Regions from separate parts of the Homo sapiens genome. Here region 2 is linked to region 1. The links are contacts of gene promoters, found by promoter capture Hi-C in blood cells and fetal thymus (Javierre and others, 2016). All regions are on one chromosome and are shown on one strand. The core of a region is centred on a gene start or on the middle of the fragment in contact, and the rest is flanking DNA. Distances in the headings are between cores, read along the strand shown.

What was found. Contacts are between HindIII fragments. The CHiCAGO score rates a contact against its expected background, and 5 or more counts as called.
Region 2: a contact is called between a fragment that was not itself captured here and the fragment with the promoter of ESYT2 in region 1, in 2 of 17 cell types (M0 macrophages and monocytes). The highest score is 5.5, in M0 macrophages.

The regions. Positions count from the first base shown.
Region 1 is chr7:158,825,525-158,832,734 of GRCh38, forward strand. It overlaps ESYT2 (extended synaptotagmin 2), which reads right to left and starts at 3,985. Exons shown (of 23, transcript NM_001367773.1): 1 at 3,565-3,985. The coding sequence starts at 3,894. RefSeq lists enhancers at 2,759-2,828, 4,839-4,948 and silencers at 2,949-3,148, 3,229-3,278, 3,369-3,558, 3,609-3,708, 3,799-4,528. The HindIII fragment of the contact is 12,010 bases long and covers 1-7,210 here.
Region 2 is chr7:155,286,522-155,293,416 of GRCh38, forward strand. INSIG1-DT (INSIG1 divergent transcript) reads right to left here. Exons shown (of 2, transcript NR_183448.1): 2 at 2,075-2,343. Among named protein-coding and RNA genes, the nearest start is that of INSIG1, 7.9 kb to the right of the region's middle. RefSeq lists a cis regulatory region at 4,434-5,033. The HindIII fragment of the contact is 8,705 bases long and covers 1,090-6,895 here.

The DNA.
Region 1 (7,210 bases), core at 2,735-5,234:
CTTACAGAATTATCACAGTTAAGTGAGAGCCATCTGTCACATCCTAATAGCCTCAATCAGGAACAGTACATATAGTTTCTCAAAGTATTAATACTCTTATCTCATTTCCATATCCAGCTTCAGTTTTTACTCAGTAAGAAGAAAAGCTGTCAGTGAATATATACAAAGGTGAGGTGAGGAAATTAGTATCTCCTTAATTCATGTTTTCCTATGTTTCCACTCTGCCATGAATTCACGGTTGTCAACGACACACTATGAAAACAAGTACAGCCTTTGGGATGTACAGATACATCTTGTTCAAGGCAAAATACCAGTCCAAAGTTCAGAAACCCCAAGCACCAATGTATGTATGGTAAAAATCAAGGTACTAGTAATATTGGCCAGGCATGGTGGCTCACACCTGTAATCCCCACACTTTAGGAAGTCTAAGTGGGAGGATGCCTCGAGGCCAAAAGTTTGAGACCAGCCTGGACAACGCGGTAAGAACTCATCTCTAGAAAAAAAAAAAAACAAAAACAAACCCAAAGTGCAAGTAATACTGAAATCTTAACTTTTCTTATTCATAGTTTCTTCTATTATTGATGTGCTTTGACCACCCCCACCACCCCTGCCGCGCAGCAGAATTTCAGGCACACTTCGAGACCATGCAACCTGCTGGTTTTATTATGAAAATAAAGTATATTACACTTTTAATAAATATCACAAAATAGATACATAAGTATAATTTAAAAGATATTTTTAAAATCTCTCTAAAACTGTCAACATAATCACTGTCAAGTTTCATGTGAATCCTTCAAGAAGCGTCTTAAGCATCCTAGGCACACTGAAGTTTACACATGTGGGATTATGAGCTCAAGTACAAATTTGGAATAAACAAGTAAAACATTCTGGAGAAAATATAAATTCTTCATGAGGTGAACACCACAGTTCATCAGTTTAAGTCACACAGATTAAAAACTTGAAAAGAATCTTTGGCTAAATTACTTTTGTATTTTTTTTTTTTTTAAAGAATTTCAGGCTGGGCGCAGTGGCTCACACCTGTAATCCCAGCACTTTAGGAGGCTGAGGCGGGTGGATCACGAGGTCAAGAGATCGAGACCATCCTGGCCAACATGGTGAAACCCAGTCTCTACTAAAAATACAAAAATTAACTGGGTGTGGTGGTGTGCGCCTGTAGTCCCAGCTATTCGGGAGGCTGAGGCAGGAGAATGGCTTGAACCCGGGAGGCGGAGGTTGCAGTGAGTTGAGATGGTGCCACTGCACTTCAGCCTGGCAACAGAGCGAGATTCCGTCTCAAAAAAAAAAAAAAAAATTTCAGTTCTTCAATAGGGCAGCAATTTCATCTGTACAGTCTGTGTGGCCGGGCGCGGTGGCTCACGCCTGTAATCCCTGCACTTGGGGAGGCCAAGGCAGGCGGAACACAAGGTCAGGAGTTTGAGACCAGCCTGGCCAACATGGTGAAACCCTGTTTCTACTAAAAATACAAAGATTAGCTGGGCGTGATGGTGCACGCCTGTAATCCCAGCTACTCGGGAGGCTGAGGCAGGAGAATCTTTTGAACCCTGGAGGCGGAGGTTGTAGTGAGCCGAGATCACGCCATTGCACTCCAGCCTGGGCAACAGGGAGAGGCTCTGTCTCAAAAAAAAAAAAAAAAGAAAAGAAAAAGAAAATCTGTGTTTCACAAAGATTTTTAACAAGCAAATTTGATATTAGCCAATAACCAAGTATCTATGAAAGTCAGCATCATCACTTCCTGCAAATTTCAGCACTGATAACATTGCTATGTTATCAATATAACATAGCAATGGATGCTAATGGACTCTGTTTTTAGCTACTTTTTAGTATTATGCATCTTAGTGTAATATAGACACAAAACGTCACTTTAAAGTCCTTTTCCATTTCCAAAGTGCACCTCCTCTGTTCTTAGTTTTCCCCACCTCGGTTCCTCTTAACTTCCTTTTTCTACACACCCCTCGGTTTTTCCCGCCGCTAGCTAAAAGCTGCACCATGCCAGTTACCTTGGTTCTCCAAATATGACTCCCTCATGCTCACCACGCATCGGCAGAACTGTACATTCCCAAGCTCCTTACATTATATTCTTACTCCAGTTGCAATATGACGTCACAAAGTAGCATCTACTACCTTCTTCTTGTCTTGGGCACGCCTCCTTTCTAATTCTTGTTTGCCATCTGTGTCATGCCTTACTTCTCAGGTGTCTCATGACTGGAAACAGGGACTTTTCTCCTCTAAGAGAAAATGACCCTTCCGAAACCCACTGCTGGTCACCTTCACCCCAAAGTTTATATTAAGCCTAATGGAAGAATCATTAAAATCCTTTCTTGCAGTGTGAAACTGTGAAGCCAAGTCATGGCTAAGAAAGAATTAGGGAATGACAAGAAAAAGATTTGAAGCCAACTCTTCGTGTCTATAGTCCATAAATATACGAGGTAGAGAACTGCCGGGTTAAAAATAAAATAATACCATGACTCTTGTTATTGCTGCAACTCTTCCAAAACTTCCTGCCACACACACACACATTCACACTGGATTCAGGTCGATCCCATATAAAAATGCTCAGTCTCACAATTATACTTGCAAAAAAACTGAAACAATCTTTCAATTATCTAATATCTCCACATCTTTCGAGAGACACTTACTGCCCTTGAAATGCGTCAGAAACAACCAAGACACGAGTGCGTCTTCTCCCGGTAGAAGAAAAAGTTAACTTCTCCCCCACCAGCTGTCATTACGTTTTTTAAAAAACAGAGAGAAGGAAAAGCTGAAGCCACCCGGAGCATTTCCAGGCCGGCAGGGCTTTGGGAATGCGCACGAGAATCGCGCTGGGCGCTCTGAGAGCAGAACCGGCCGCTCAGGCCCCTAAGGAGACCCCGCGGGCGGCACCAGGAGGAAGCGCGCGCTCCGGGCAGGGCCGCGGCCGAAGAGGGGGCGCCAAGCCCGGTACCTGCCGCTGGCGCTCGGGGTCTGCAGGCCGGGGGAGGGAAGCGGGCTTTGTGAAGAGGGGTCTCCGAGAAAGCCGCGCGGGACGGCGAGGGGAGGCTTCACGAGGGCAGACGCGCCCCGGACCCGGAGCCTGGGCGGGCGGGGAAGCGGAGAAGGGGACGCCCGACTTGGACGGAGGGAGGGCACGGAGCACTCAGGACTAGGGCGGGAGCGGCGAGCAGCGGGCGGCGGCCCCAGGCGGACAGGTTCGCAGGGAGTGGGCCGGAGGCCGGGGCGGGGCTGGGGTCTGCACTCGCCCTAGCGGGCAGGTCGCCAGCAGGCTGGGAGTCGGGGCCGGGGGGCGGGGCGGGGTCTGCACTCACCTAGGTTGGCAGGTCGCAGGAACCGGCCCGGGGGCCGGGGCTGGGGTCTGCACTCGCCCAGGCGGAAGGGAAGCGCCTGCCTGGACCGGGGTGGGTGGGGGACTACGAAGGCGGGAGCCGGGGCAGGGCTGGGGTCTGCACTCACCCAGGCGGCAGGTCGCGGGGAGGGGAGTGCCTGCCTGGACGAGGGGAGATCGGGACTGGTGGTCAGGGGTCGGGACGGGCAGGGGTCTGCACTCACCCAGGCGGGCAGGTCGCAGGCGCGCACCCCCAGGCGCACGACGCGCTCCTCGTCTTCCAGCAGCGCCAGCGCGCGGCACAGGCGCAGGGCCTTGAGGCCGCGGCTGCGGCGACACCAGGCGAGCAGCGCGAGCGCGAGGAGAACCCAGCTGAAGCTGAGCCCCAGGTAGCCCAGCGCGTACACGGGCAGCAGCAGCGCGAAGCTCCGCGCCAGCTGCGCCAGCAGCCCGGGCAGCTCCACGCTCAGCACGCCCCCGGGGTTCTCAGGCGCCGCGCGGCCCCCAGCCCCGCCGGCGCCCGCCTCCGGGCCCTCGCCCCGGGCGCCGCTCATCGCCCCGCAGTGCCGCGCTGCCCTCCCGGCCGAGGCGGGCTGGGTGCTCGCGCTGATCCCGGGCGGCTCAGCCCCGCGCCAGCGCCCCTCTGAGGGGACGCGGCTCCGCCGCACGCCCGCCTCCGCCCGGGACGGTGGCGTCATCACGCGGGGCGGGAGCGGCGTGGGCCTGGGGCTGGCACGTCACCGGGAGCGGGCGGGGTGGATACTGACGTCATCGCGCGGGGCGGGCCGTGGGCCGGGTCGGAGACTACTGGAGTGGGCCGGGCAGGCGCACGACGTCATCACGCGAGCGTTGTGTCTCGGCTGGCGGGAGCCGGGGACGGGAAAGGAGAGTGCTCGGTGCGTGGGCTGGGCGTGCCTGCGTCCCCTCGAGCCCCACGGGGCACCCTCCCCACTTGCCTGTGGCCTCGGAGCCCGCGGGCGGTTTTGGCTCGGCGTCGCGCCCCGAGGCGGCTTCCGGGTGCGTGGCTGCGCTCGCCGAGGCCCGGGAAGTTGCCGTCGTCAAACCCAAAGGCTGACCGCCTCTGGGAGCTGCTGGCAAACGTGGGGGTGCGCGGCCGCTGAGCGCAGCCGGGGTGGCGGTGGGATGAGAGGGCGGCGTCCCTGTTTGCGGTCATTTTGCGGCCAGGAGGACGGGTGAGAGGGCGCCGCCCGCCGGAGGTCGGACGGGCGCCGCTGGCGGGAGTCCTCCGGTATTTTTCGGTGTGAGGTTGCCTAGCCAGTGTGCAAGGTTGTGGCTTTTGCGGAGTCTCTCGGGACGGTCTTGTTATCGGGCATTCCGGCGTGAGAACGCTGCCTCTGGGGCCCTTCCCACCCTGCTTGTCAGGGTTTTAAACACAAACGACTCCGTTGTGACCTTGACAACTCTCACACAGTTCAGTTGGCTTTTAAGATGCCTTTAATCCCAAAAGTCCTCCCTGAGGGGTCTGGTAGTGCCGGGCAAAGACCACCGCAAGCGCCCAAGGGACGCTGTTGACACTCGGGAACTCCACCCCGGGCACCACGCAGCTTCGCCGAAGGTGTTAATATTGTGGCCAACTATGAATAGCTGTTTCAAACGACTAATTTTGGGCCTTTCCTGTGATTCCTGAGGTCACTTTTCAGTTAACTCAAAAACACAACTATTGATCACTTTACTTTCCAGTGAATTCAATCGAGTTAATTATATTTGTTCTGTAGTTTCTTTCAAGGAAACTCCAAGCCAAACAGTAGCAAAGAACATCCTACTTGACTGTTTTTGAGCATATTCAGTGAATTCCAAGGAAATTTTTACTGAATTTGTAACAGAGTAGGGCACTGGCAGGTACTGAATGAATAAACAAATGCCCAGAAGAAGCAGGGTCACCTTTACATAGGAATCTGTCTCCCCTCGTTCCTGCGTCTTCATAATTTTGTGTGCATATGTATGTGGAGATTATATCACATATGTAAAACATTGCAGAGTCTAAACTCTCAACTCCAGGCAAGGGCAGTAAACCCCAAGCAAGGAATGGAAGTGGTTTCCCTTTTCTTACTCTTCACAGTCCCTGGTTTGCTGCAGCAACAAATTATATTATGTAGATTGTAAATATGCAACCGGTTAATGCTCCTAACACCACCTTTCATTCAAAACTAAGCCTCAACACAAAAGCAAGTAATTGCTTTGTTGACACAGAAAGGAGCCTGAGCCTTTCTTTTGCAGCTTTCCTCTACTGGAAAATTGTAGGATCACATCCTACAAAGACTTGCATAAACATAAGCCACGTAAAAAATTCTGTAATCCCAGCACTTTGGGAGGCCGAGGAGGGCAGATCACGAGGTCAGGAGATCAAGACCATCCTGGCCAACATGGTGAAACCCCGTCTCTACTAAAAATAACAAAAAATTAGCCGCGCATGGCGGCGCGCACCTGGAGTCCCAGCTACTCGGGAGGCTGAGGCAGGAGAATTACTTGAACCCGGGAGGCGGAGGTTGCAGTGAGTCGAGATCGCACCACTGCACTCCAGCCTGGGCGACAGAGCAAGACTACGTCTCAAGAAAAAAAAAAAAATCCTGTGCCATGTGCCATCCAGTGGTTGACCCAAGGATGTAAACTAGATTGAAGAGAAGTTTCCATGTTGCATACCAGTCAGCCCAAGTGTCCTCAGCTTCCCTCTGTGTGAGCCCCGGGTTTCCAGCCCCTCCCTGTGGTTAATTGCCTGCAGAAAGCAGATCCTAAGGCTCTGCCACAGCTCAGTCTTACAGGTGTCTGGTCTGACTGCAGGTCCAGCTCGGCTCTTAGATTTTTGCTAATATTATACCCCTCAATCTCCTGTGACCTTTCATGACCCCTCCATCCTTTCCTTCTTGTAGACAAGGAGAAGTGCTGCTTTCTCTGGAGTGTCATTCCGAGTGCTCCGGTGCACAGCTGCGAAGTTCCAGCCTTCCTGGTTTCAGAGGAAAGTGCTATCTTGTGCTTAGGTTCAACTCTTCCTGCTTTTGGGTCCTCCCCCACACCTCTAAATACGTCTCGTTATGGAGGGTGGGAGCACGTGCTCTGCATCTCTTCAATTTGGAGGTTATACCAGCAAATTAAATATACTGGGGACAGTGAAAGCCAGGTTTCTTGCTGTTGGAGAAGGTAAAAACATGGAAGAGGGAAGGCTAAAAAGAACACTGAGGGATTGGATTGGAACTGGAAGTGGTAGTATGAACTCATTTTTTTAAAATATGTATATACAGATAGATATAAAGATAGCTGTATGTGTGTGCACACATGTGTAGGTATATGTGCATATAAACACAGAAATAGTTTCTAGTTCTGTCTGCTGAGTATCTAGATGCAATGGTACCCCAGTACCAGTGATCACAGCTAGCCCCCAGATCTTATCTTCTAAATAAGGTTTTCCAACAAAAGGAATCAGGGCTCTTTGGAGAAATGGTTAATTTCAGGGCTGGAGTGGAAGTACAAGATGATCCTGGAATAATTTTGTTGTTCAAGGAAGTGAAGAAGTGCTCAAAGATTGACAGGAGATCAAAGGACATGGAAAGTAGTTGGAGGGAGTTCTTGCTGGCGAAATCTAGGACAATTTGAGCAACAAAACAAAGAATGATATTGGCAGATTACCACTGAGTGAGCAAAATAGAAACGCATGAGTTGAGTCCACACTGATGTAGATCAACAAACCAGTGATGAATGCAGGGAAAATAATAGTGGAGAAGGGGAGGTTCTTCTTTACAGTAGAATGTGAACTCATAAATGGAGAAGGAATTATGAGAATGGAAATAACCATTTACCAATCACTGTAGTGGGGTTGTTGCAGGAGTGAGAATGGAAATAACCATTTACCAATCA
Region 2 (6,895 bases), core at 4,192-6,691, 3.5 Mb before region 1:
TGAAAACAGACACTGGCTTAGCCTCCCAGACTACATCTTTCTCCCGTGCTGGATGCTTCCTGCTCTTGAACATCAGACTCCAAGTTCTTCTGTTTTGGAACTGGGACTGGCTCTCCTTGCTCCTCAGCCTGCAGACGGCCTATTGTGGGACCCTGTGATTGTGTGAGTTAATACTTAATAAACTCCCCTTCATATATATGTATCTATTCCATTAGTTCTGTCCCTCTGGAGAACCCTGACTAATACACCGCCGTGCTGTTTTCTGGAGCAGCTGCATCATTTCACATTCTCACCAACAGCACACAAGGGTTCCAATCTCTCTACGCCCTCATCAGTGCGTGTTCTTTTCTGGTTTTTGTTTTTACAATACCCATCCTAAAGGGTGTGAAGTGACGACCCACTGTGGTTTTGATTCGCATTTCCCTGCTGACTGGTGAAGCTAAGTGCCTTTCCATGTGCTTGTGGGCCACCTGCACTGTCTTCTTTGCTCTTTCCATGTTTTGTCCATGTTATTGTTGAAATCTGCTGTGGCCCGGGCCCCCAAACACCCGGCTGCCTTCCTACTAGTGCCTGTTCCATGTCACCGTAGGTCTATGGTACACCCATTCCTCTTCCCCATCCTCTGGCTGTCCCCCTGCCCTGCCTACCCCTCCCCAGGGCCCATGGTGGAGCTTGATGGCAGCCTCATCCTCCAGACCCCAGCTGGAGCCTCTGCACCGCCTGTGCTGCTCTAAGGAATCACAGGCGCCTTCCCACCGTCTCCATCCCAGGCCGTCTTTATCCCTCTTCATCCCATCCCGTAGGGTCCTGTCCCCTGTCCCTCCACCACACACAAGCCTGGCTGCAAAACAGGATGTGGCTTTTCCACATTTCCTCTTTCTTGCTAATCTTGAACAGGGGCACGAATAAAGATTTTTCTGCCAATAACTACAGAGAAACTAACAAAAGATTTTAAAAACAACAGGCAAGGGGAAGTCACGAACACCGCACAGTCCTGCAAGCTTCTTAGAGTCCTTGTCGTCACGAACACCGCACAGTCCTGCAAGCTTCTTAGAGTCCTTGTCGTCACGAACACCGCACGGTCCTGCAAGCTTCTTAGAGTCCTTGTCGTCACGAACACCGCACGGTCCCGCAAGCTCCTTAGAGTCCTTGTCGCCAGCCCAGGGCCCTTGGCTCACTTCTGAGGAGGTGAATGGAAGCCACGGTCTTCCCGCCTTTAGTTCTGCGAACAGGGTCCACTGACCCCACCCGTCTCCTGGGAGCTGCCAGGTGGAAGATGATCACCTGTTTCTTCCTCGAAAGCCCTGGGCCTGAAGAGCTATGCAGTGGGGACGGTGAGTTCTGCTCTCTCAGAGATGCTCCAGGTCGTGCGACTCAGCACAATGGTCATAGCCTCCCACCAGTGGGCACCTTTGTCTTGGGGTCTGTGGTAAGAGAAGCCACATGAGACCACCATATTCCACCTCTGAGCTCTCCAGCAAGGCCTCCTCCCATCCCACCAATGCAGGCCTCTGCCACACTGTGTCCTCCCTGCCCAGGGTCAGCAGTGGCCCTGGTCTCGGGCCATCCTGATCTCCAGTCTGTGGCTGGTCATCTTCCAGCACAAATACCAAGCGTGCGCTGCTCCTGAGTTCCAAAGACTTCCCATTGTCCCCAGCAGCACACCCCAGGGGCGCACAAAATGTTTCCAGGAAAATATTCAGCTTTGCTACTACTCAGCAGACGGGGGGACCGTGGCACCCCCGGCCTCAGCCAGACCGTCCGCTGCACACCTGCATGGCACTGACTGAACATGACGTGTCCGATCAACACGGGGCCATGCCTCCGAGAACGCGACTGCAGCTCTCCCTGCACCTCTGTCCCATCTTCAGCTACAGAACCGGAGCTCCATACGCGGGCCTGGGGGTCATCTGAATGTAAACTTCACTTTAGAGTCACCATACTCTCATAATCTACACTGTTTTAATAAAATCTTAGTAATTCTCTGTAAGGAGATGACGAGTGACCATGGAAATATTTCATCTCGTGCAGGGTCTCATTGTTTATCTCATGGCAAAATATACTTTTTTAATGGTTGGATGTAAACATGAACTCAAACACGTTTTATTTATTAAGATACAACCTGAACCACAAAAACAAGGAGATCAAAGATGAAGTGGCTTAGACAGAAGTTTCAGTCTCTCTCCCCAGACTGTCTGGAGGTGAGTGGATGGCGCTTCATGAGGTTGCTGGGGACCCCTGTCTGCTGGGTCTCTTGCTCTGTTGTCCTGTTACGACACGCGGTGCATGGCATGGCACATGGTCGGCATGGTAGATGCTGGGTTGCTGCCACACCCACACTCCCTGCTGGAGGAAAAAACAGAGATCAAGAGGGAGTCCAGGGAAGCGCCTTCATCTTCAGAGAGTGACTGGGAGTTGCAAACAACCCACCTGCCCACTGCCCACTGGCCCAAATTTAGGCTCATGGCCACACCAACCGCTGAGAAGTTCAGTCTAGCTGGTGCCCAGTCTTTAGCTGGTTCGGCTAAAATTCAAGAGGCTCTGTAATTAAATATCTATTTATAATATATCATGTAGTGCATATAAGATATGAGGACAGCTATATATATATATATATGTAGTAAATACATTGATATATGTATTGGGGAGAACAAGGTAAACATCAGCCAACTGAAACAGATGATCAAAAAAGACTTAGCCACACCAGCTCCCGGGACAAAGGCTAAGCTGCTTAGCCTGTCCCCAGGCTTCAGCCCAGCTGACTTCTCCACTCTGTCTCCCACGTGCTCAGAATCCCCCGAGGGCCTCACGCCTCTGCGCAAGTTGTTCCTCTGCTGGAATGGCTTTGCTCCTTCTCTGGGTGACAAATTCATCTTTCGAGACTGAGCTCAAATGTCACATCTCCTGAGAGGCATTTTCTAATTGTCCCTCTTCTGTGTTTCCATAGCACCGCCTGTCTATGAATTTCTATGATAAAAATCACCAAAATGCATCGAAATGATGTTTTCATGTCTGTGGTAGGCAGAATATCAGTCCGCTCCCAAAAGTCCACAGTCTAATCCCTGGAATTCGTGAATGTGTGATGTTACATGGTGAGGGGACTTTGCAAACTCGATTAAAGATCCTGGGATGAGGAGATTCTGCTGGTGTCTAAGCCCATGCGGGGAGCTCTAACAAAGTACCAGCGACTGGGCTTATAAACAGCAGATATTCATTTCTCACAGTGCCGGAGGCTGGAAGTCCAAGCTCAGGGCACTGGGAGACAGTGTCTGGCGAGGGCCACTTTCTAGTTCAGAGATGGCGCCTTCTCCTGCATCCTCACATGGTGAAGGGGCCAGGGAGCTCTCTGGGGCTCTCTCTTCAGGGCCCCGACCCCATTCACAATGGCTCCACCCTCATGACCTCAGCACCTCCCAAAGGCCCCACCTCCTGGCACCATTGCCTTGGGGTGCGGCTTTCAACGTATGAATTTGGGAGGACACAGACACTCAGCTCATACTACCTGGGTTATTCAGGCAAGTCCCACCTAACTCCAGGCCCTTCGAAGTGAGCAGGAGGCCAGAGTGATACCACGACAGGGCCATGAGCAGGGAAGGCAGGCAGCCTCTGGGTGCTGGGAAGGGCGAGGGAACAGACCCCCTGGAGTCTCCAGAAGGAACCCAGCCTGCCAGCGCCTTGATCTTACTGCAGCGAAACCCAGTTCAGGCACCCAACCCCCAGAGCTCTGAGATGACACATGCGTGCTGTGCAGGGCCACCGTGTTTGTGGTCATTTGTCACAGCAGTGCCGGGAGCCTCCTCCTAGGTCCTTCTCCCCCATTAGTTTGTGAGCAGCTCCAGGACCATGCAGCAAGAGCCCTTGTGTATCTCTAGCACAGTGCCTGGGGCACAGCAGGAACTCCAGGGGTGAGAGCAATGGGGGTGCGGGGAGCCCAGCTATGGACTCAGGGAGGCTGGATCTGAACCCCTGCTCTGCCCCTCAGCATTGTCACAGCTTTGAGCACATTGCTTGCTTCAGGACTCCATTTCTTCACGTTCTTCACCAGATAGAGAGAACACTCATCTTTCAGGTGCCGTGAAATTGAGTAACACAGATTATATGGTGTGTCTATATTTTGGGTGGTAGCCACCGACCGTGGGGCCAAGGCCTGACATGACCACACAGGTGGCAAGCCCCTGGCCCCTCCGCCCCTCACTCCTTCCTGCTCCATGCTCCACATCCCTCCCAGTCCCGGAGGACAGAAGGCTGAAAGCAAGGTGTTTCCAGGCCCTGCTCCCTGTGAGAGCCCTACGGGACAATCCTTCCTTACTCCTTCCGGCCTCTGGTGGCTCCCAGCAAACCATGGCGCATGTCCGCCTCCGTCCTCACACGGCTTCTCCTGCATGTCTGTCTCTGGGTCTCACCTCCTCTTCTTAGGAGGAAACAGTCATGTTGGATTTGGGCCCACCCTACTCCAGTGGGAACTCATCTTAACTCATTACATCTCCAAAGACTCGATTTCCAAATAAGGTCACATTCTGAGGTTCCCAGAAGGACATGAATTTGGGGGCACACCATCCCACCCAGTGCACCCCCTCTGCCACTGCTATCTGCTGCCTTCACTCCCCAGGGACTCAGACACCTGACACACAGTCTGTCTCCATATCCCAAACCTGTCATTGTGCTGAGGACTTCGTCCCACTCAAGCATGACTCATCCAAGGCCTCGCCTCTGGGTTCCCTGACCTCCTTGGCCCTGGTGACTCACTCCACACCACTCCAGCCACCCAATCCCAGGCTCATCGTGGGGACTGCCACCCTCTGCAGTGGCTCTCCCCTGACGCCATGTGCCCACACAGCCTCCTCCTGCCCAGGCTCTCGCCTTCAGATCACCCATCCAGTAATGAATCTGTGGGAGCTTGGGTTGCATTAATCAATGAATATTGCTACCCTTGTAGGGCCAATACCCAGTGTTCACATAGGGCAAGCCTCTACACACTGACCCTTCCCTCTGTGGGGCCCTCTTCCTCCCGGCATACTCCTTTCACCTCCATTTCACCTGACCCAGGTTCCATGACGCCACCAGCCGCCTGCCGCTAACCTGCCCTCCACTGCTCCATTGCCCCTCCTTGGCACCACCAGGAAAAAACCAATTCTAGAGGCCCCTCGAATGCTCTGCCATTGCTACCCAGCCTGGAGTGTCGTAGAGAAGAACTCCCACGCCACCCTGCAGATTGGGCCCTGTGAAGTCGCCATCACAAACCTCCACCAGGCACTCCACACCAAAGGGTTTACACTCCCAGTTTCCAATCGCTCCTGTCTCCCTCTTAACTCAGGAGCTCTCCTCCTTCTTCAGAAATGACAGAAACTTCCTGAGGGGAAGGCGACCCCACCACACCGCCCCCATCTCTCCCACCTACTTCCTCAGTAGAGGGTGTGCCTGCCCAGGAATCCCCACTAGGATTGGTCCTAGACACCAATCTCCTCCTCTAATCTTCTCCTCAGGGACCTCACTCTCCACTGCCTGCTCTCACTCCCTCTTCTTCAGTCTTTCTTTATTTTATTATTATTATTTTTGAGACAGAGTCTCACTCTTGTCACCCACGCTGGAGGGCAATGGAGCAATCTCGGCTCACTGCAACCTCCACCTCCTGGGTTCAAGCGATTCTCCTGCCTCAGCCTCCCGAGTAGCTGGGATTACAGGCATGTGCCACCACGCCTGGCTAATTTTTGTATTTTTAATACAGACGGGGTTTCACCATGTTGGTCAGGCTGGTCTCGAACTCCTGACTTCGTGATCCACCTGCCTCAGCTTCCCAAAGTGCTGGGATTACAGGCGTGAGACACCACGCCCTGCCCTTCTTCTTCAATCTTTCTACTGGGTCCATCAGCGTTTATATTTGTTCACGTCTCTCATTTTTTAAAACAAAACAGGCTGGGCGCCGTGGCTCATGCCTGTAATCCCAACACTTTGGGCGGGCAGATCACCTGAGGTCAGGGGTTCAAGACCAGCCTGGCCAACATGGTGAAACCCTGTCTCTACAAAAATACAAAACTTAACCGGGTGTGGTGGCAGGTGCCTGTAATCCTGAGTGGGAGGCTAAGGAGGGAGAATCCCTTGAACCAGGGAGGTGGAGGTTGCATGAGCTGAGATCGAGCCACTGCACTCCAGCCTGGCTGACAGAGCAAGACTCTGTCTCAAAATAAACAAACAAACAGACAGACAAACTAAACTCTTTCCCCATCACTCTCTCCTCCAGCTTCCATCATCTCTCCCCTCCTTCTCACAGCCAGACCCCTTCCAGAGGGATCTTCACTGGCAGCCTCATTTTCCTTGTCTCCTTATCTCATGGAAGCGCAGCTTCCCCCGTGACTCAGGCCACTCACACCGAGCTTCCTGCTGACCACATCACAGGACCCCCAGACATGATTGGTCTCTGTCTTGCATGCCATGGCTGCCACTTTCTCCTTTCCAGAACATCCCCCCCCCGGATTTCTTGGTCGCACACTTTCTTCCTATCTTACTGGACCTTCTGCCACTGCCCCTGGCAGCCCCTTTCCTCTGCTCCAGCCTCAGGGCTGTACGAGGCACACTGACTTCTCATCCTACACAGTCTGCCTTGGCCCACCCTCCACTCCAATGCAGAGTCACCATCTGCAGTGGTCTCTGCGATGGATTCACCAACAGCTCTTCACATTGGAGGGTCATCTCTCTGCCAATCATAACTGTTCTACTCCCCTTTCCAGTGATCAATATAGGCATGGACAGTCTGACCAACTTGACTTGCAGAAGCAGCTCTGGGGTCTTCTTACCACTTGGGGCTCTGAGGATGAGTCCACTGTTGGCTGTGGAATCTGGTTGTCCCATCAGCCGCAGCGTGGGGCTGAGTATAGTCATGTGTCGCGTAACAACGAGC